6 separate regions of the Homo sapiens genome follow, and regions 2, 3, 4, 5 and 6 are each linked to region 1. The links are contacts of gene promoters, found by promoter capture Hi-C in blood cells and fetal thymus (Javierre and others, 2016). All regions are on one chromosome and are shown on one strand. Each heading gives the region's core, a stretch centred on a gene start or on the middle of the fragment in contact. The rest is flanking DNA. Distances are from core to core; before and after follow the strand shown.

Region 1 (3,108 bases), core at 415-2,914:
ACGTGCCACCATGCCTGGCTAATTTTTGCATTTTTAATAAGACGGGGTTTCACCACGGTGGCCAGGGTGGTCTCAATCTCCTGACCTCATGATCCACCCCCCTTGGCCTGCCAAAGTGCTGGGATTACAGGTGTGAGCCACCGCGCCCGGCCCAATATTAACTTTCACCTGAAAGGTGTCTGCGGCCTTTTCGACCAGCTGAACACCATAATCCTCTTTAAGTGGCTGAATGGTCACACCTCTTCCATTGACAAGCTGGGTTAAGTCAATAGGTTGAGTAGGATCAACACGACCCAAATCAGTAACATATTACAGTCTATTGATACTTAAAGGTTGATACTGGTGTCTGAAGCTAAGTCCTTCATTAAATCTGTATTTTGGGATTCCGATGTAAAATAGAGTCTGGCCATCCCCAAAGCCCAGCAGAGCCAGTTTCCTCTCTGCCTTTCTCTTTTATGGCCTCTGCCGCATTTTCTACCTCTTCTCCGACCTTTTGGTCGTCTCATGGGTTTCCTGGAGCCAGGATTCCGCTTTAAATTGGTCAGGCTCATGCGCAGCAGGGCCCAGAGCTGCCATAACCTGCGAAAAGAGTTTTATTTCTTCCTTTCTGACCTGTATGTCTTTTGTTTCCTAATTGCATAGCCTAGATCCTCCATCTGGTACAATGTTGAATAGGAGTGGTAAGAGAGACACCCTCGCTTTGTTCCTGCAATCGGGGGGTGGGGGGAAGATTTCAGTCTTTCACTACTCAGTATGAGGCTACCTGTAGGTTCTTTGTAGGAGCCTTTCATCAGGTTGATGAAATTCCTCTCTATTCTTAGTTTGCTGAGAATTTTCATCACGAAGGGTGTTGGATTTTGTCAAATGCCTTTGCTGCGTCATTTCCACTCACATTTCATTGGGAAAACCTGTTATACCTGTCCAATAGCGGCAGAACATCAGGTAAAGGCCAGTGGTGACAGCTGTGGCAACAGGCCAAGCTCCAGACCTTGCCAGGCTAGAGGTGGCCTGGGGTTGGAGCAGGCTTAACCCCCTCCCTCTGCTCAGAAGGTCCAGCATCCTGACCAGACTCGGCAGCTTATTGAATTTGCCGGGGTGCAAGCTTCCTTGCACTGTCCACATGTTCTTACCAGGGAAGGGTCTACCCAGGGCCATCCTGCCTCAAAGGAGAAGTGGTTTACTGTTTTCTCCACCTTTAGAGGGAATGAGGGTCCCTGCTCCTGGTCCTTACTCTACTCCACTGTCCAATTGGCGCATGCCCTGAGGCTCTCATTATACAAATTGGAAGCTAAGGTGCAAAAGAACTAAGAATTTGCATAAGGTCCCCAACAGGTGAAGGCAGGCCCCAAACCTAGGATCTAGATTTCGTTTTTCTGACCCCGCTTCCTTTAACCTGCAGGGCTGGCCCAACGCCCCGGGCTTCACCCAACACTGGGCGCAGGCGGGAAGGCCGAGAGGCTGGGTCGGGCGCCCAAGCGAGGGCCCAGGTGGGGCGAAACAGGCGCAGTCAAGGGGCTGGCACCTTGGCCCCCCGCCGTGGATTCAAAGGGTCAGGCTCCGCCCCCTCCAAGCCCCGAGCCCACTTTGATGTGCTGATGCGGCCTGGAAGGGGCCACTTCACACCTCGGGCTCGGCATAAAGCGGCCGCCGGCCGCCGGCCCCCAGACGCGCCGCCGCTGCCATGGCCCAGCCCCTGTGCCCGCCGCTCTCCGAGTCCTGGATGCTCTCTGCGGCCTGGGGCCCAACTCGGCGGCCGCCGCCCTCCGACAAGGACTGCGGCCGCTCCCTCGTCTCGTCCCCAGACTCATGGGGCAGCACCCCAGCCGACAGCCCCGTGGCGAGCCCCGCGCGGCCAGGCACCCTCCGGGACCCCCGCGCCCCCTCCGTAGGTAGGCGCGGCGCGCGCAGCAGCCGCCTGGGCAGCGGGCAGAGGCAGAGCGCCAGTGAGCGGGAGAAACTGCGCATGCGCACGCTGGCCCGCGCCCTGCACGAGCTGCGCCGCTTTCTACCGCCGTCCGTGGCGCCCGCGGGCCAGAGCCTGACCAAGATCGAGACGCTGCGCCTGGCTATCCGCTATATCGGCCACCTGTCGGCCGTGCTAGGCCTCAGCGAGGAGAGTCTCCAGCGCCGGTGCCGGCAGCGCGGTGACGCGGGGTCCCCTCGGGGCTGCCCGCTGTGCCCCGACGACTGCCCCGCGCAGATGCAGACACGGACGCAGGCTGAGGGGCAGGGGCAGGGGCGCGGGCTGGGCCTGGTATCCGCCGTCCGCGCCGGGGCGTCCTGGGGATCCCCGCCTGCCTGCCCCGGAGCCCGAGCTGCACCCGAGCCGCGCGACCCGCCTGCGCTGTTCGCCGAGGCGGCGTGCCCTGAAGGGCAGGCGATGGAGCCAAGCCCACCGTCCCCGGTTAGTGTCCCCTTCCCCGCGCCCCCTTCGTCCGTGCCCCCGCGCACAGCCCCACCGCCCGCCAAGGTGAGGACCAGGCACCCTGCTGCTCCCCGCCGGCAGCCTGGCCACCTGGCCACCATAGTATGCCCAGGGCTCCAAGAAGCGAAGGCAGGGAAAGGCCACGCAGAGGACTGGGTCTCCCCTCGCTAGGGGCCCCCTGAGAGTGGAGCCCACGAGCGCGGACACCCGCACAAGGCCACCAGTGCTTGAGGGCTGCGCTGTTCCGTCTCTCCCTACAGCTCCTTCCGGGCGACGTGCTGGCTCTGTTGGAGACCTGGATGCCCCTCTCGCCTCTGGAGTGGCTGCCTGAGGAGCCCAAGTGACAAGGGACAACTGACGCCGTCTCTGTGAGCACCGAGGCTTTTTGGCCTCAGCACCTTCGAAGTGGTTCCTTGGCAGACTGCCTTTCCTGGAAGAGGGCACGGGCGATCCCGACGGGGGCATTCCTGCGGGTGAGAGCCGTCCCCACCGCGGCGGCCCTTCTCAGCCCCTCCCTCCATGGAGGGACCCATAGGGCTAGACACTTTGAGGCAAGCAGGAGGCTCTGCCTAATGTGAATTTATTTATTTGTGAATAAACTGTACTGGTGTCAGTTGGCAATTTCTTCTTCCTACCCGTGGACACAGAGCTCCCTCTCTCCCTCCAAAGAAGAGCATGGGAGA
Region 2 (3,108 bases), core at 212-2,711, 370 kb before region 1:
CATGCCACTGCACTCCAGCCTGGGCAACAGAGCAAGACTCCATCTCAAAAAACAAACAAACAAACAAATAAACAAAAGATATGTCGACCTAGAGGAAAAAACTGAGGGAAAATCATTTATACAAATAGAGAGTTTATTTGGGCCAAGTTGAGGACTGCAACCTGGGAGCACAGATTCAAGTTGCCCTGAATAAATGCTCCAATTAGCAATATTTACAGATGGGTTTTTAAAGGAAAAAAGGAGAAGCAGTCCCTAAATGGTCTACCAAGAATTTACATTAAAATAATATAAGCTATTGATTGGCTATCCATTGATTTTTTTTGTATCAGGAATTCCAGGACATGAAGATAACAGATAAGGAAAAAAAAAAAAAAAAAAGGCCTTTAAACAGGTGCCCCAGGCCTGAATGTGGGAGGGCCTGGGGAGCTGTGACTGAAGTCCCATACTCAAGTCTCTCTGGGCCTGATCAATTTTGTATACAATTTCACATAGCTCAGACTGTTCTGAGCTATTTTTCTTTTCTCAGGTCAATAAGTTGGACTACATTAAAATTAAGAGTTTTTGTGCATCGAAAGATGTGTTAAAAAAATAAAGCAAGCCATTGAGTAAGAGGACATTTGCAACACATACATCCAAAAAGGAGACTCTGGGCGTGGTGGCTCATGCCTGTAATCCCAGCACTTTGGGAGGCTGAGGCAGGTGGGTCACTTGAGGTTAGGAGTTCGAGACCAGCCTGACCAACATGGTGAAACCCCATCTCTACCAAAAAAAAAAAAAAAAAAAAAAAAAAAAATTAGCTGGGCATGGTTGCGTGTGCCTGTAATTCCAACTACTTGGGAGGCTGAGGCAGGAGAATTACTTGAGTAACCTGAGAGATGGAGGTTGCAGTGAGCTGAGATCACGCCACTGTACTCCAGCCTGGGTGACAGAGCAAGACTCTGTCTCAAAATAAATAAATAAATACATAAATAAGGAGACTCATATCAAAATGTATATCAAGGCTGGGCGTGGTGGCTTATGCCTGTAATCCCAGCACTTTGGGAGGCCGAGGCAGCAGATTACCTGAGGTCAGGAGTTCAAAACCAGCCTGGCCAACATGGCAAAACCCGTCTCTATTAAAAATACAAAAACTAGCTGGGGGTGGTGGTGCACATCTGTAATCCCAGCTACTCAGGAGGCTGAGGCAGGAGAATTGCTTGAATCTGAGAGGCAGAGGTTGCAGTGAGCTGAGATCGCGCCACTGCACTCCAGCCTGGGTAACAGAGCGAGACTCCGTCAAAAAAAAAAAAAAAAGAAAAAAGAAAAAAAATGTATATCGAACTCCTACAAATCACAAACAAGCAGAAAAGCCAATGGAAAAACAGGCAAAAGATTTGAAACAGGTGCTTCACGAGAGAATATCCAAATAGCTAATAAGCATATGAAAAGGAACTCAATCTCATTAGTCCCCAGGGAAATGCAATTTAAAAATCGCACTGAGCTCCCACTACACCCACCAGAATAACTAAAGCTGAAAAGAATGACAATGCTGTTATCAGTGCTGTAGAGAAACTGAAACTCTCATACTTTGCTGGTAGAATATAAATTAGACAATCAATTTGAAAAGTTGGCAGTGTCTATTAAAACTGAACACTTTATATATGTATGTGTACGTCCTATGACCCAGTAATTCACTCATAAGTATTATTCCACAGAATTTTGTATATATGTACAGAAGATAAGTGTAAGAACGTTCATAGAAGCATCGTTAGTAATAGCCCCAAACTGTAAACACCCGATGTTCATCAATAGTAGAATGCAAATAGTAGAAATAAATTATGGCAGGTTCATAAAATGCAACTTTAGATAGCAACGGAATTAGTAAATTACAGCTACATGCAAAAACATGAATGAAGTTTATAATGTAATGTTGAGAAAAAGACACAACAGAGTATATACTGTATGACTTTATTTACACAAAAATAAAAATGGGCAAAATCAATCATTTTAGTAGAAGTTAGGATAGTAGTAGTGACCTTTGGGGAATTTGGAAAAATAATGTCTAAGAGAGAACTTAAGGATGGTTTCTGGGTTGCAGGTAATGTTGTTTTCTTTTCTTTTTTGAGACGGAGTCTCGCTCTGTCGCCCAGGCTGGAGTACAGCGCGATCTTGGCTCACTGCAACCTCCGCCTCCCAGGTTCAAGCGACTCTCCTGTCTCAGCCTTTAGGGCCTCACCTCTTAATACCATCTCACTGGCCATTGATTTTTTTTTTTTTTTTTTTTTGAGATGGAGTCTTGCTCTGTTGACCAGGCTAGAGTGCAGTGGCAGGATCTCGGGTCACTGCAACCTCCGCCTCCCGGGTTCAAGTGATTCTCCTGCCTCAGCCTCCAGAGTACCTGAGATTACAGGCATGCACCATGACTCCTGGCTATTTTTTTTTGTATTTTTAGTAGAAACGGGGTTTTGCCATGTTGGCCAGTCTGGTCTTGAACTCCTGACCTCAAGTAATCTGCCCGCCTTGGCCTCCCAAAGTGCTGGGATTACAGGTGTGAGCCACCACGCCTGGCCCAGCCATTAAATTTTAATACATGAATTCTGTGAGACATTTAGACCTTAGCAGTGAGAGTAAAATAAAACAAGTTGAAACAGAGAAACTTAATTCTCACAGACTTTTGTTAAAAGACCTGTTGAATGACACCTTTCAGTTATTAGGAAATTGAACCCAGGAGGCAGGAGTGAAATTCAAGACACAATGCTGAGTAAAGAAACTGGCATGGCTGGGTGGCTCACACCTGTAATCCCAGCACTTTTGGGAAGCTGAGGTGGGAAGATCCCTTGAACCCAGGAGTTTGAGACCAGCCTGGGCAACATAGGAAGACCCCTGTCTCTATGAAAAAAGAAAGAAAGGTGCAAACATGTTTATACATCTACTTGAAAAGAAAAATGAGGAGGCTTAGAACTCCCACTGGAACTAAAATATTATGGACTAATAACATGAAAGATGGGAGAATTGGAGAGAAATAATCTAAGTTTCTCATATTTTTAAGAAGGATAAATAAAATAATGAGTTTTAAACTTTGTAAAGTCAAGAATTTAATTTTTCCTTCCCTTCCCTTTCCCTTTTTCT
Region 3 (3,108 bases), core at 339-2,838, 350 kb before region 1:
ATTAGCGTGACTGGGAAAGCAGAGAAGGGAAAGAGGTCAGGTTTTTCCAAATAAAACCCAGCCCTCAGCTGGTGTCTTAGTTTAAGAAAACAGATGAAGAGAGAAACTTTGTTTGTGGCAGAATCAATTACAACTGTCTTTTGTGGCCAGGTGCAGTGGCTCACACCTGTAATCCCAGTGCTTTGCGAGGCCGAGGCGGGAGGATCATTTAAGCTTAGGAGCTGGAGACCAGCCTGGGCAACATAGTGAGATCCCCCCATCTCTATTTTTAATTAAAACAAACAAACAAACCCATCTTTTATATGCAAACAGGCAAAAATGGAACTGTTTCTACTGTGGCTGTTTGACTACTCTAGGGTCTCAGAAAACAACACCCCAAAATGCAGGCCTCAGGAGCAGCTCTCTCTGACCCTCTCCCTCCCTCCTGTCTTTGGCCCCTCACTCTCCTCCGAGGCCAGCCATAGAAACTGGAATCCTTCTTCCTCAAGGCAGGTCATAGAAACCAGAGCCCTTCTCCCCCAAAGCCAGACATCGAACCCAAAAATATTACTCTTTCTCCCACACATTTCTGGGTAAAAACTGGCCATAAATTATCTGACCTACCTTGTTTGCTTGCAGGTCCTAAGACCCCTCCATCCCAGAGAGAGTCCTGCCCCGTACTCAGAAGGAAGGAATGCTGCAGAGAAAGGTCAAGAAGAATCTACACGGACAGGACTTGCTGGGTTTCCCCACTCAGGTTATTGGCCTTCTGGTCCAATCATATTTCTTTTTTCGTGGTTTTTTTTTTTTTTTTTTGAGACGGAGTCTCACTCTGTTGCCCAGGCTGGAGTGCAGTGGCATGATCTCAGCTCACTGCAATCTCTGCCTCTCAGGTTCAAGTGATTCTCCCGCCTCAGCCTCCTGAGTAGCTGGGATTACAGGCGCGCGCCACCATGCCCGATCAATTTTTGTATTTTTAGTAGAGACAGGGGTTTCATTATGTTAGCCAGCCTGGTCTCGAACTCCTGACTTCAAGTGATCCGCCTGCCTCGACCTCCCAAAAGTTCTAGGATTACAGACGTGAGCCACCGCGCCCGGCCCAAAGTGAGATTTCAACTCTCTCTACACCAGCTGGACCTGACAGCGGACTCGCGGAGGCGCAGACGCCGCCGGCGGTCTTAGCTCAAGAATGAAGCAGCCGCACTGGGCTAATGCGCCTTTGGGTTCAGCCCGGCAGGCGAGGGAAGCAAGAGTTCGCTCAGATTGGCTTTTGGGTTTAAGCTAAAGCGTCAGAAACTGACATCCAGGTTTACATGGGGCATCCTGGAGAGGGTCAGCCTCGCAAGCGGCTCTGCTAATCCCCCAGCCCTGATCCCGCTCGCGGGTCCCGGTGGGTCTCACGCCTGTAGCTCCTGCGGAGCTGGGCTTTCAGCGGCGCCCAGAGAAGCACCAGCCGGGCCTGGCCGCCGGGTCCCGGCTCCCGCGGGACGCTGGAGGCGTCGGCGGCCCTGGCCCCGCCTCCTCCCCGGCAAGGCCCAATGGGGCGGCAGGCCCGGCAGCCCCGCCCCGGTGGTGCCCGCGCGGCCAGCGCCCGCCAGGCCCAGCGTTAGCCCGCGGCCAGGCAGCCGGGAGGAGCGGCGCGCGCTCGGACCTCTCCCGCCCTGCTCGTTCGCTCTCCAGCTTGGGATGGCCGGCTACCTGCGGGTCGTGCGCTCGCTCTGCAGAGCCTCAGGCTCGCGGCCGGCCTGGGCGCCGGCGGCCCTGACAGCCCCCACCTCGCAAGAGCAGCCGCGGCGCCACTGTGAGTGCCGCGCGGAGGGTCCAGGCAGGCGCGCGCCCCCAGCTGCGACGTGGCGGCTTCCCAGGCTGGGGCCGGGAAGCACGTCCCGCCAGCCCGCAGCCCGGGGACGGCGGGGTCAGGCGCACAAAGGGCCGCGGGGCAGCTTCGCTCCGCGCTCCCCCGCCCGGCGCTTCCCGGCCGTGCCAGGCGCTGGGGTGGGGACTTGAGGGACGGTGGCAACTGGTGGCCCGGGCGACGGCCAGCTCTGCGCGGGCGGGGGCTCGGGGCTGCCGCGCGCCCCTAGGTATTTCGGGAGGGGGTCCTGAGAGTGTCCCGGACCCGAAGGGTGGCCTGCCCGCCCTGCGCCCCTGGAACGAGACGAGCACCCGTGGGGGGCTGGAGCACCCCGCGCGCTCCCCTGGCGAGAGGGAGGGTCGTGGCTCGGCCCCTGCTCAGACAAAGGCTGGGAGGCGGGAGACATGCACTTCCCCTTCCTTTTCAGCCAGGCGCGCGCTGATACCAGGCCCACGTCAGCTATTTTTGGAGCCTTTTACACGACAGCTGGAGGAGCGTCCTTTTTAATTTTCCCCTTTTGTTTGGCCGCCCCCACCCCCACCCCTTCGCCTTCATCGCTGCACTTGAGGCTCCATCCTGGGGCCTCTCCTTGACTTGACCTGCCTTGGCAGGCACATGCCCTCCCTGCCTGGCTCACTCGCCGCAGAGACCTGGCAGCCCGCGCAAAATGTCACTTTGCGGAATCGTTCCCACGGCTTCTGGGTACCCTTAGTTCCCTGCTTAGGAGGGAAGACAGTAGTCGGGTCGTAATAAGCAAGACTTAGCCCGAGCCTCCGTTGCCAACGCAGGCTGCCTTGCTTGGCGTGTGGGCATCGGCCTGCCCCCTCACCCTGGCTACCCAACACAGCTACAAAAGGCAGGGAACAATGTAGGTCCCTTGGCCCTGCCTAATGCCTGTTGCCATGGAAACCCCTATCCTAATCTGGCCAGGAGCCCCTTGCAGTGAGCCAGGAGAGTGAGGAAGAGGGGATGGGGCCCGCTGGCCCTGACCTGGCCAGAGGAGGTAATGGTTAACCGGATTGTGGGAGCAGCTGACTAGAGCCGGGGGGGTAGGGAGGCTTGGGCCCCAGTCCTACCTTCCCTGCCAAGGAGAAAGGGGCATGTCTGCTTTTGTACCTCTGGGAATCTACCTCAGGGATCTGCCCAACAACTCCCAGGTTCCAAGTGCCCCAGGACCCAAAGATTCCCATATAGCACACCACCTTCAGCAAAAATATGGTGGAAGTTAGCCACATTCTTTAATTCTCCCTTTTTTTCTGCCTTGATGGTAAAAA
Region 4 (3,108 bases), core at 213-2,712, 290 kb before region 1:
CTAAAGTGGGGTGGTACCAAGAGCACCTGCCTCACCAGTTAAAATATGTAAAGTGCTGAAAGCAGAACCTGGCACGCTTGTGGTGTTTGCTGCTATTATTAGCACTCAGCAGCTCGCCTGGGCCACACGTTAGTTACGGGAGGAGCTGGACTCCTTGATGCCAGTTCTTAGGGGAGAATCGACTGCTAGGTGCCCTGCCACCTGGGAAACTGGGGCCCTGGAAACATGCCTGCCTCAAACTCGGACCCTCGTCCTGTCCCCACCCACCCCCAGAACCTCTTTCATCTCTAGGCCAGCGTGGCTGTGCGTGGGCATCTTCATGGGCGTAAGGAGACGTTCTTGCCCAAACTGGAAAAACCTGATGGCCTTGCAGGCCTGCCCTGGCAGCTTCCGGGTTGCCAGCAGTATGCTGAGAAGCAGGTGGGGCCAGGAAGAGCAATGGTGGCCTCCTCCCCTGGGCCCAGGCTCAAATCTCTATGGTGCCTGCCCCAAAGCCATCTTGATCCCTTTCCTGGAGCATAAATCCCAAACGTCCCTAGATAAGCAGACTCCCTGCTACCTTTACCCACACCACAGCTCATCTTGTCTTGGTCACCCAGACTCAGAGGGAGGACAGCCTTTTCCCCAACCCCTTTGGAGCCCCAGACCCTCCTCCTGGGAAGTGGGTGTTAGCACCCAACTTGCACATAGTAGGGGCTCAGCACCATATCACGGGGCTTCAGATCCACCTCCCTCATTTCCACATCCAACTGACACTCTTCCTCTACCTGGGTCTGGTCACTACTGATGAGTGGGCTCATTGTCCCCACCCGTCTGGGTGTCTGGCTTGGTCACTAGCCCTTCCTTCTCCTGCCGCCCTCCATACCTGGCACTGACTCGTCCCTCCGCCCTCCTCCACCCTCCTCTAGTCTTCTTGGGGAGGATATGGCCCCTTCCCTGAGGCCCTGGGCTCTGCGGGGCAGGGATAGGACTCCCCTTTGCATAAGGCTTTACAATTTACACAGCACTTGGCTGTGAGCTGTACTGTTTCCACTCTACATCTGCTAACAACATGCAATTCACACTTCAGCAAACATTCATGAAGCGCCTACTATGGGCTGGGCACTGAGCTGGGTACGCAGGAGGAAGGGCACACAGGGTTCTGCCTTGGGAGGGTCCTGCCGGCCACACCTCCAGGCCTGATGGCTTGTGCCAGCACACCTGGGCCTGGAGCCCTCATCTCACATAGCCCAGGCCACTGACATCTCAGGGCTCCCTCCCAGAGGTAGCTTCCTTCTGCAGAGAGCCCTGTGTCCCCCCAGAGACCATGCCTTTTCCTGGGGCCCCTGGGAACCCTGGCTGGACGGGAGCCCCACAAGCTTTCTCTGTGGCCCTGGGGGACCCAGAGTGTGACCAGGTCCCTTTTTCTGTGCTTTGAGGAGGTACCCAGGGTCTTCCAGGCCCGCTGCCCGACGTGCCCCTTCTACAGGGCAGAAATGTGCCGAGACATGCGGTAGGTCCTCCAGAAGAGACCTGGCCCCTGCTACCTCGCGTCTCTTCCCTCTCTGGCCTCCAGCTCAAAGCTTTCATGCACCACAGCCCGCTGCAACCCTGGCAATGTCCGATTTCTTGTTTTCTCTCCACCCCCTAAACTGGGGCCAGATCTATGTCCTCCATCACCTCCTCAAGCTCTACTCTATGATATCTGTCCCCTCCACCAGAGCTCAGCTGTCCTCTGGAAGGTGGCAGCCCTTTGCCAAACACAGGAGCTTTGAGCTGGGCCTCCTCCTCATCTGGCAGCAGCCACACAACCCTCTCTGAGCTCACAGGCCACGCACCACCACCACTCCCTGGCCTCCTGCATCCCAGCGGCCCCTGGGCTCAGGCCTTGGCCTGAGTGGACTCCCTCAGAGAAACCATCTCTCATGGCTTCTGCGCTCACCTCAGTGTTGACCTCACTAGAGCTGCACCCTTACCCAGGTCCGCAACAGTTCCCAGACGGCAAACCTGTCAGCCGTCACTGTCTAACCTCTCCATGGCTCACGTCCTTGAAGCCATCCGCCATTTCCAGCTTCCTTCTTTCTGCTGTTCCAGTTGACCAGGCTCAAGCTCTGAGGTCACTGTAGAGTGACTGAGGTTTTGCAAGGCTTTTCTGCCTGGCAAACATGGACAGCACACCATTCTCCTAGGAGCTAGAGAGATGAAGACAACAGTCTCCGCCCTCCAGCAGCCACAGTAAATGGATGATTACCTTAGTGAGTTGACAGCTATGACATACAACTCCCAGGAGATGGATAAAGGGAGATGTGATTAAGTCTTATGTGGGGGAGTCAAAGGGGGAGGTGACACCTGAGCAAGGTTTTGTAGGTTGTGTAGGAGTTCAGCAGGCAGACTAACAGAAGAAAGGCACTCTGGGGGAGGGAGCAGTGATTGTAATGTGGAGGTGTGACACAGTGCGGGGGTTTGGCCTACACAGGTATAAACACACCTCAAGAGTAGGCAGGGCCACCTTTACTCCTCAGACCACAGTGACTGGTGGCCCCTGGGGATGTAGAAAGTGCTGGCCTTGCTGCGGTGCTATCCACTGACCCATGCACACAGGAGAGGAGCCACTGCTTTAACAGGTAAAGTAAATGTGCTAACCAGGCACACGCACATGCCTGATTGACAAGCATATGTCGGCTCTCAGAGGAGGTTCGTTTCCACAGGTTTAAAGAAAAATAAAGAGGCCTACAGGGAAAAAACCAAACTGTTCTGTTTGGATAATTTAGGAAAACCTGAGTGAAAATTCTCTATAGCTCCCAGGTGACATTTTGAAATCCCTCTGATGCGTGGGACACATGTGTCCCTGTCACAAAGGATGTGTCAACACAGGCTGCCAAACCCAAGGTGGCGGGCCCCTTATTTGGTGAGGGTTATCCAGCTCAGCTGTCGGTCCAGCTTGTGTCGTGTGGACCGGCCCCCTTCCTCACACTCAGCCCCTGTGTCATGTTCACACGGACGCCACCTAGCCCCGCCTTGGCAGGGAATGGCGACACCACGCTCCGCCAGAGTGGGGAGGCCCGTGGGACCACATCCGCCTCTGCCTTCACCCTCATCTTGAGCCCCATATTGGGCCAGGCAGAAGGG
Region 5 (3,108 bases), core at 386-2,885, 280 kb before region 1:
TGCTCATATGATTGTGATTATCAAGCTTGATCTTTTTAATTACTAAAAAGTTTTTTGGCCAGGCACGGTGGGTCACGCCTGTAATCCCAGCACTTTGGGAGGCCGAGGTGGGCGGATCACCTAAGGTCAGGAGTTTGAGACCAGCCTGGCCAACATGGTGAAACCCCATCTCTACTAAAAATAGAAAAATTAGCCGGGCATGGTGGCATGTGCCTGTAATCCCAGCTACTCGGGAGGCTGAGGCAGGAGAATCACTGGAACCCGGAGGTGGAGGTTGTAGTGAGCCAAGATCAAACCACTGCACTCCAGCCTAGACGACAGAGTTGAGACTCTGTCTCAAAAACAAAACAGAACAAAAAATTTTTTTGTAGAGACTGGGTCTTGCTACCTTTCCCAGGCTGGTCTCAATCTCCTGGCCGCAAGCGATCCTCCCACCTTGGCTTCCCAAAGTGCTAGGATTACATGTGTGAGCCACCATGCTTGGTCTATTATCAAGTTTGAAAGTCCCAGAATGACATAAAATCCATTCCCGTTTGAGTTGGAGTTTGTTCATTCTCTGTGGTTTGTATCAGCACTAACTGCCCTGGTGATGTCAAATGGCCAGAAGGGCCCCTACACCTTGCTGGGACCTTTTAGGTTGGACCAGGAGAGCTCACCACCCTGTAAATATATCCCATGACACACACCTGGCTGGTGCTCTCCCAGAGAAACCTTCTCCAGCTGAGGGAAACCCTGTGCAAATATGTTCCTGGGTCAAAGTCCTCTGAGAGGTTTCCCAGTGGGCACTCATTCCACACCCACATTTATTATCTCTATAATTGCCAGGCATGGGAGTAGGCGTTGGGAAAAAGTAAGAGCAATAAACAGAGCACAGCCTTTCCCTGCCATGAGCTTACTAAACTGTAAATAACTTGCTTTTAAATTAACATTTTCCATTATAAAATTAATAAAACCACCCATTACAAAAGGTTTGAAAAAGACGGATGAGAAAAACATGAATACTCCTTCTCACCCTAATGCAACCACTTCTTGTGTATTTCTTCCCAGTCCTCTTCATGCATGTGTTTTTCACATGGTTTTGATCACAGTGTATACAATCTGGTGTCCTACTTGTTTTCCCTTATCTGGATGCCACAAGCAATTTTCCATCTTGCATGTCCGTAATCGATCACCCATGTTCATAGTCACACCGTTCACACACATCCCCATTTGCCTGCCAATTCTTGCACTGGAGGACATTGAGATTGCTTCCCGTCTGTCCACACTGCCCAACAAATCACCTCCATGCATTCACGCACAGAGAAGATAAAGGGAAGAGGCAAATGTCAGGTAATTTGATGGTGTCAGAAGGGACTTGGTGAATAATGACACTGTGTCAACTGGGGCAAGTTACTTAACCTCTCTGAACCTCAACTTCCTGTAATATGGGCAGAATTGTAAAAAGGATTTAAACAGGAGGCCATTGGTAAACTCCCAGCACAGGGCATGATCCACAATAAATGCATGTTTTCTTTTCTCTTACATATCAGCAGGTCATGTTGGTGACTCCTAAATACCTTCTCAGAGACTGGGACAATCTGCAGAGACACCCTTGGAGCACAGTGCAGCAGCTTCCCATACCCTGCATTCAGATTGCTAAGTTCTGGGTGACAGAGGATTTGTATGCGGAACTATTGAAGGGAGAAATGATGTGTGCTCTGTAACTTTCTTCAAAATGGTTCAGGAAAAAATATATATACCTGTGCAGATGAAGCAAATATGGCAAATGTTAACATCTATTATATCTCAGCCATTGGTGTATGGGTATTTACTGTTATATACTTTCAATTTTTCTCAATAGTTGAAATTCTTTCATAATAAAATCTTTTAAAAACTCTTCTAATTTAAAAAGTTAAAAATGGTATACTTTCAAAACTTGTATTGCATTCATTAATTTCTTCAACAAATATTAATTCAATAGAGTCAACAAATATTAACTCAATTTAGTATCTGTTACGCAGAACTGACCTGGTTCCTAGCCTCATGGAGCTCACCATTTGGCATTTTCTTTAGGTCGGGCATTTGTTTGCTAATTATATCGTCTGTGCATATTGTCTTCAAATTTAAATCTTTTTTTTTTTTTTTCGAGACAGTGTCTCACTCCATCACCAAGGCTAGAGTACAGTGGCACAATCTCGGCTAACTGCAACCTCCCAGGTTCAAGTGATTCTCATGCCTCAGCCTTCCGAGCAGCTGGGACTATAGGCACACACCACCACATCCAGCTAATTTTTGTATTTTTAGTAGAGACAGGGTTTTGCCATGTTGGCCAGGCTGGTTTTGAACTCCTGGCCTCAAATGATCAGCCTGCCTTGGCCTCCCAAAGTGCTAGTATTACAGGCATGAGCAAGGCCTTCAAATTTAAATCTTGATTTTTAAAAACTAATCTATATATAGGATCTTGGTAGAATTAAAATATCAATGGCTGGGCATATGGCTCACGTCTATAATCCTAGCACTTTGGGAGGCCGAGGCAGGTGGATCATTTAAGGTCAGGAGATTGAGACAAGCCTGACCAACATGGTGAAACCCCGTCTCTACTAAAAATACAAGAATTAGCCGGGTTGGTGGCACACGCCTGTGATCCCAGCTACTTGGGAGGCTGAGGCAGGAGAATCGCTTGAACCCAGGAGTTGGACATTGCAGTGAGCTGAGATCTCGCCATTGCACTCCAGCCTGGGCGACAGAGCAAGACTCTGTCTCCAAAAAAAAAACAGAAGAAGAAAAAGAAGTTACAATTTTTTAAGGTAGTCAAATCTGTTGAATTTTTTGATGACTTTTGCTATTGGTTCTAAACTTTGGAAATAAACCTCTAGCCTAAGATTTGGCAGAGGGTAAATTGTACTTACTGTTATTTAATACTTTTACTCTTTCTTTATAATATTTATATGTTTCTGTTTCAGTATTATCATGTTGACTAGAGTGTTAAAAGCAATGTTAAATAGTGATGGTGATGGCAGACCTCCTTATTTTGTTACTGGTTTCCACAAGAATGCCTCTAGTGTTTAAGTTAATTACAGAATTGGTTATTGGTTTGAAATATTTTTTATTATGCTAAGAATGCACCCT
Region 6 (3,108 bases), core at 177-2,676, 260 kb before region 1:
GGTTCAAGACCAGCCTGGGCAACATGGAAAAACCCCATCTCTACAAAAAATAAAAAAAATAAAAATTAGCCAGCTGTGGTGGTGCATGCCTGTGGTCCCAGCTACTTGGGAGGCGGAGGTGGGAGGATCACTTGAGCCTAGGAGGCGGAGGTTGCAGTGAGCTGAGATCTGCCACTGCACTCCAGCCGAGGTGACAGAGTGAGACCCTGTCTCAAAAAAAAGAAATCCATCTATTTCCAAAACCATAACAAATGCAAATGGCTTGAACTCTCTGGTTAAAGAGCACAGATATCAGACTAGATTAAAAACAAAAGGAAATCCAGCCCTAGGCTGTCTACAGGAGACATGAGGACAGGGATCATAGGCCAAGAGTCCTATACAGGCTGAAACCACAGTCATGGTAGGTAAGCAAGTAGCAATGAACTGTGGCCAAGGCACCAAAGCATAGCAACAGGAAAGAATGGTACAAAAAAACAGATGAGAGAGGTAGGAAAAGGACCCAGAGTGATGAGCCAGACCCAAGGTGGAGAAGACTATTCATGACAATAACTGCTATGGAGAAGTCAGGTAAGAGGAAGTCACAAGATGGGCCACCGGGCAGTCAGGTAAGAGGAAGTCACACAAGATGGGCCACTGGGCATGAGTAGGTGGCCAGGGACCTCTAGGAGAGCCAGCTGGAGTGAGAGTGGGCTGGGCTGAAACGCTCCACTGTTGTTGAGCTGGCAAGGAGAAGAGGGGGAGAGAGGAAGTGGGGACAGAGTGGACTCTTCTTTGTGAAATCCTAGGGTAAAGAGAAGTGACACAGGTTGGGGTTGGGGAGGGAGAGAGAGGTGTGACTGTAGCTGTAGGTAGAGAATTAAGGCATAGGAGGATGTGGGGTGCCCAGACCTAGGGAGGAAGCCAGGGCAGGACACAGAGGAACAAGCAGTGGGGCTGATGGTGGGCACATGGGGAATGGACCAGGGAAGTGGGCACAGATTTCCCAGGTTGGGGCAGGGGTGGGCAGGGCTGCTTCAAGGAGTGCTGTGTAGTGGGAGGACAGGAAGAGTTCTGAATTTCAGAGGTGACCTGCTTCTGGGTAATGGCAAGTCTACAGTCTTGTGATTTGCAGCTACAGAATGGAGCCACGATGGGAAGCGATGGCTTGTGAGCCCAGGGCCCGAGGATCGGACATCACAGAGTGAGATTAAACTGACCAGCACTACCAGCTTCCAAAGGGTACCTGATGCTTCTCAAGGGGCCAGCTTGGACTTGGTCCTTGCGAGGACATTCTGATGTGCCCCAGGTTTTAGCCGTTGTCTTTTACCAAACACATGCAGGACAGTCTTCCCAGTCTGGAAGCCCATATCCTTGCAGTCCCACCGAGAACGGGATGGGGTCCGGGATGGCATTTCAGGTACCATCCAGAAGACAAAAACACACATAACCAAGAGTTATCACAAAAGTTATAGTTTCCCATTTAAATGCGGAGGGTGGACATTCCTGCTTTCTGTAGTGACCATTCTAACTTCATTTCGATTCCATATATATAACATGCTGGGGGCAGGGAAAGAAGAAAGGGAAAATAGTTGGGTCGCAATATGATCACTTATTCTCAGCTTCCGACTACACTAAAAATCCTCACATTTCCAACAGTTTTCTTAGTTCTCCCAGAAATAAACACACAATAGAGCATATGTATTTAATATCAGAAAATCCTTTACAATGGTGATTGCGAAAGAGACCAACCCACTTCTTTTCTTTTTTTTTTTGAGACAGGGTTTTCAGGCTGGAGTACACTGAGGCCATCATAGCTCACTGCAGCCTCAACCTCCTGGGCTCAAGCGATCCTCCCACCTCAGTCTCTTAAGTAGCTGGGACTACAGCTACACGTGCCACCGACTGATTTATAAAACTTTTTTGTAGAGACAGGGTCTCACTATGTTGCCCAGGCTGTTCTCAAACTCCTGGGCTCAAGCAATCCTCCTGCCTGGGCCTCCCAAAGTCCTGTGATTACAGGCATGAGCCACTGTGCCCGGCCTCCAACCCACTTCTAATAGTTCTTTTACTTCATGTATATATATATACATATATATATATGTATATATATATATACACACACACACACACACGTATACTATATACATATATACACATATACATATATATACACATATGTACTATACATATATATATACTACATGTATATAATAAAGATAATACATACTGGATAAAAATTCAAACAACACAAAATGAATGAGAGAAAAGACAAAAGGCCTCTGTACTTGGGGTAGGCACTAGGGATGGGGGAAGGGTCAGGTCTGTGAGCCATACACATTAATTAGTAGGTAATAAAAAACAGTTGTTTTACCTTTTGAAGCTGCTGATTCAACATATATTTGGCTGTGCTTTGGCTGTAACATCCTTTAATCCCTCCCTTTCAGAATCTACCCCAATTTCCTGTTGCCACCTTACCTCCCTGATTTAAGGGTGCAATTCTTCAAGTGCCTTCTTTCCAATTCTAGAATTTTTAATTTAGCCTTTGGTGCGGCAGCAGTTTTGTTTTCTAATTACTTTCTTTGCAAACAAGCATGAGTTGGGCCCAACAGTGATACAGGCTTTCATGGGCTAGCCTGGCAACCTGGAGCTATTCACAAGGTGCTTCCTTGGGAAAATGCTTTCTATGTTTTACATGAACAACTGGGGAGATGCTTACTTGTAAAGTGGGGGTGGGGGTGAGCCTCTTCATCTGTGCTACCAAAAAAGAGCTCGCCCCTAGTCCTGCTTGCCCTGTTACTAGGGTAGGCTTTGCAACCAGCGACTCTGGGACCCCAGTGCCTGGGTTCTAATCCTGGCTCTGAGGCTTACTAGATCTGTGACCTCCAGAAAGGTATTCAACCTAAATGAGCTAACAGTATGTATAAAGTGTTTACAATTATGCCTGGCATATCGCATGTGCTGTATAACAAGAGAGTTGGGTGAGGTTAGTCCAGTAAGACATTTGACAAATTCTTAGAGCCGCAATCTCCCTTGAGGCCAGTGAAAGCTACGGCTCCTCTTCCCAGAAAAGTGCACACATGTAACCTTCTGCACAGTTTCAAGTACCCCTGACCCTTGAAGCCCACCCAC

What was found. Contacts are between HindIII fragments. The CHiCAGO score rates a contact against its expected background, and 5 or more counts as called.
Region 2: a contact is called between a fragment that was not itself captured here and the fragment with the promoter of MESP1 in region 1, in 4 of 17 cell types (M2 macrophages, neutrophils, M0 macrophages and 1 more). The highest score is 8.8, in M2 macrophages.
Region 3: a contact is called between the fragment with the promoter of IDH2 here and the fragment with the promoter of MESP1 in region 1, in 13 of 17 cell types (monocytes, M0 macrophages, endothelial precursors and 10 more). The highest score is 18.0, in monocytes.
Region 4: a contact is called between a fragment that was not itself captured here and the fragment with the promoter of MESP1 in region 1, in 1 of 17 cell types (M1 macrophages). The highest score is 6.8, in M1 macrophages.
Region 5: a fragment that was not itself captured here is called in contact with the fragment with the promoter of MESP1 in region 1 in 2 of 17 cell types (M2 macrophages and M1 macrophages); the score reaches 6.8 in M2 macrophages.
Region 6: a fragment that was not itself captured here is called in contact with the fragment with the promoter of MESP1 in region 1 in 1 of 17 cell types (M1 macrophages); the score reaches 5.7 in M1 macrophages.

What each region holds. Positions count from the first base shown.
Region 1 is chr15:89,749,805-89,752,912 of GRCh38, reverse strand. It overlaps MESP1 (mesoderm posterior bHLH transcription factor 1), which reads left to right and starts at 1,664. Exons shown (of 2, transcript NM_018670.4): 1 at 1,664-2,404; 2 at 2,686-3,038. The coding sequence starts at 1,682. The coding sequence ends at 2,769. It also overlaps the pseudogene MRPL15P1. RefSeq lists silencers at 1,614-2,043, 2,104-2,393. The HindIII fragment of the contact is 7,264 bases long and covers 1,105-3,108 here.
Region 2 is chr15:90,119,612-90,122,719 of GRCh38, reverse strand. All of the region lies in intron 2 of IDH2-DT (IDH2 divergent transcript), which reads right to left. Among named protein-coding and RNA genes, the nearest start is that of IDH2, 19 kb to the right of the region's middle. RefSeq lists an enhancer at 634-1,133. The HindIII fragment of the contact is 4,319 bases long and covers 1-3,108 here.
Region 3 is chr15:90,100,948-90,104,055 of GRCh38, reverse strand. It overlaps IDH2 (isocitrate dehydrogenase (NADP(+)) 2), which reads left to right and starts at 1,588. Exons shown (of 11, transcript NM_002168.4): 1 at 1,588-1,780. The coding sequence starts at 1,666. It overlaps IDH2-DT (IDH2 divergent transcript), which reads right to left and starts at 1,924. Exons shown (of 3, transcript NR_149130.1): 1 at 1,678-1,924; 2 at 604-676. RefSeq lists silencers at 1,378-1,837, 2,158-2,227, 2,718-2,807, 2,868-2,917 and enhancers at 1,452-2,306, 2,307-3,108. The HindIII fragment of the contact is 3,688 bases long and covers 216-3,108 here.
Region 4 is chr15:90,044,272-90,047,379 of GRCh38, reverse strand. All of the region lies in intron 1 of ZNF710 (zinc finger protein 710), which reads right to left. Among named protein-coding and RNA genes, the nearest start is that of ZNF710-AS1, 36 kb to the left of the region's middle. RefSeq lists an enhancer at 352-401. The HindIII fragment of the contact is 204 bases long and covers 1,361-1,564 here.
Region 5 is chr15:90,026,863-90,029,970 of GRCh38, reverse strand. All of the region lies in intron 1 of ZNF710 (zinc finger protein 710), which reads right to left. Among named protein-coding and RNA genes, the nearest start is that of MIR3174, 22 kb to the right of the region's middle. The HindIII fragment of the contact is 3,216 bases long and covers 28-3,108 here.
Region 6 is chr15:90,007,413-90,010,520 of GRCh38, reverse strand. All of the region lies in intron 1 of ZNF710 (zinc finger protein 710), which reads right to left. Among named protein-coding and RNA genes, the nearest start is that of MIR3174, 2.2 kb to the right of the region's middle. The HindIII fragment of the contact is 5,216 bases long and covers 1-3,108 here.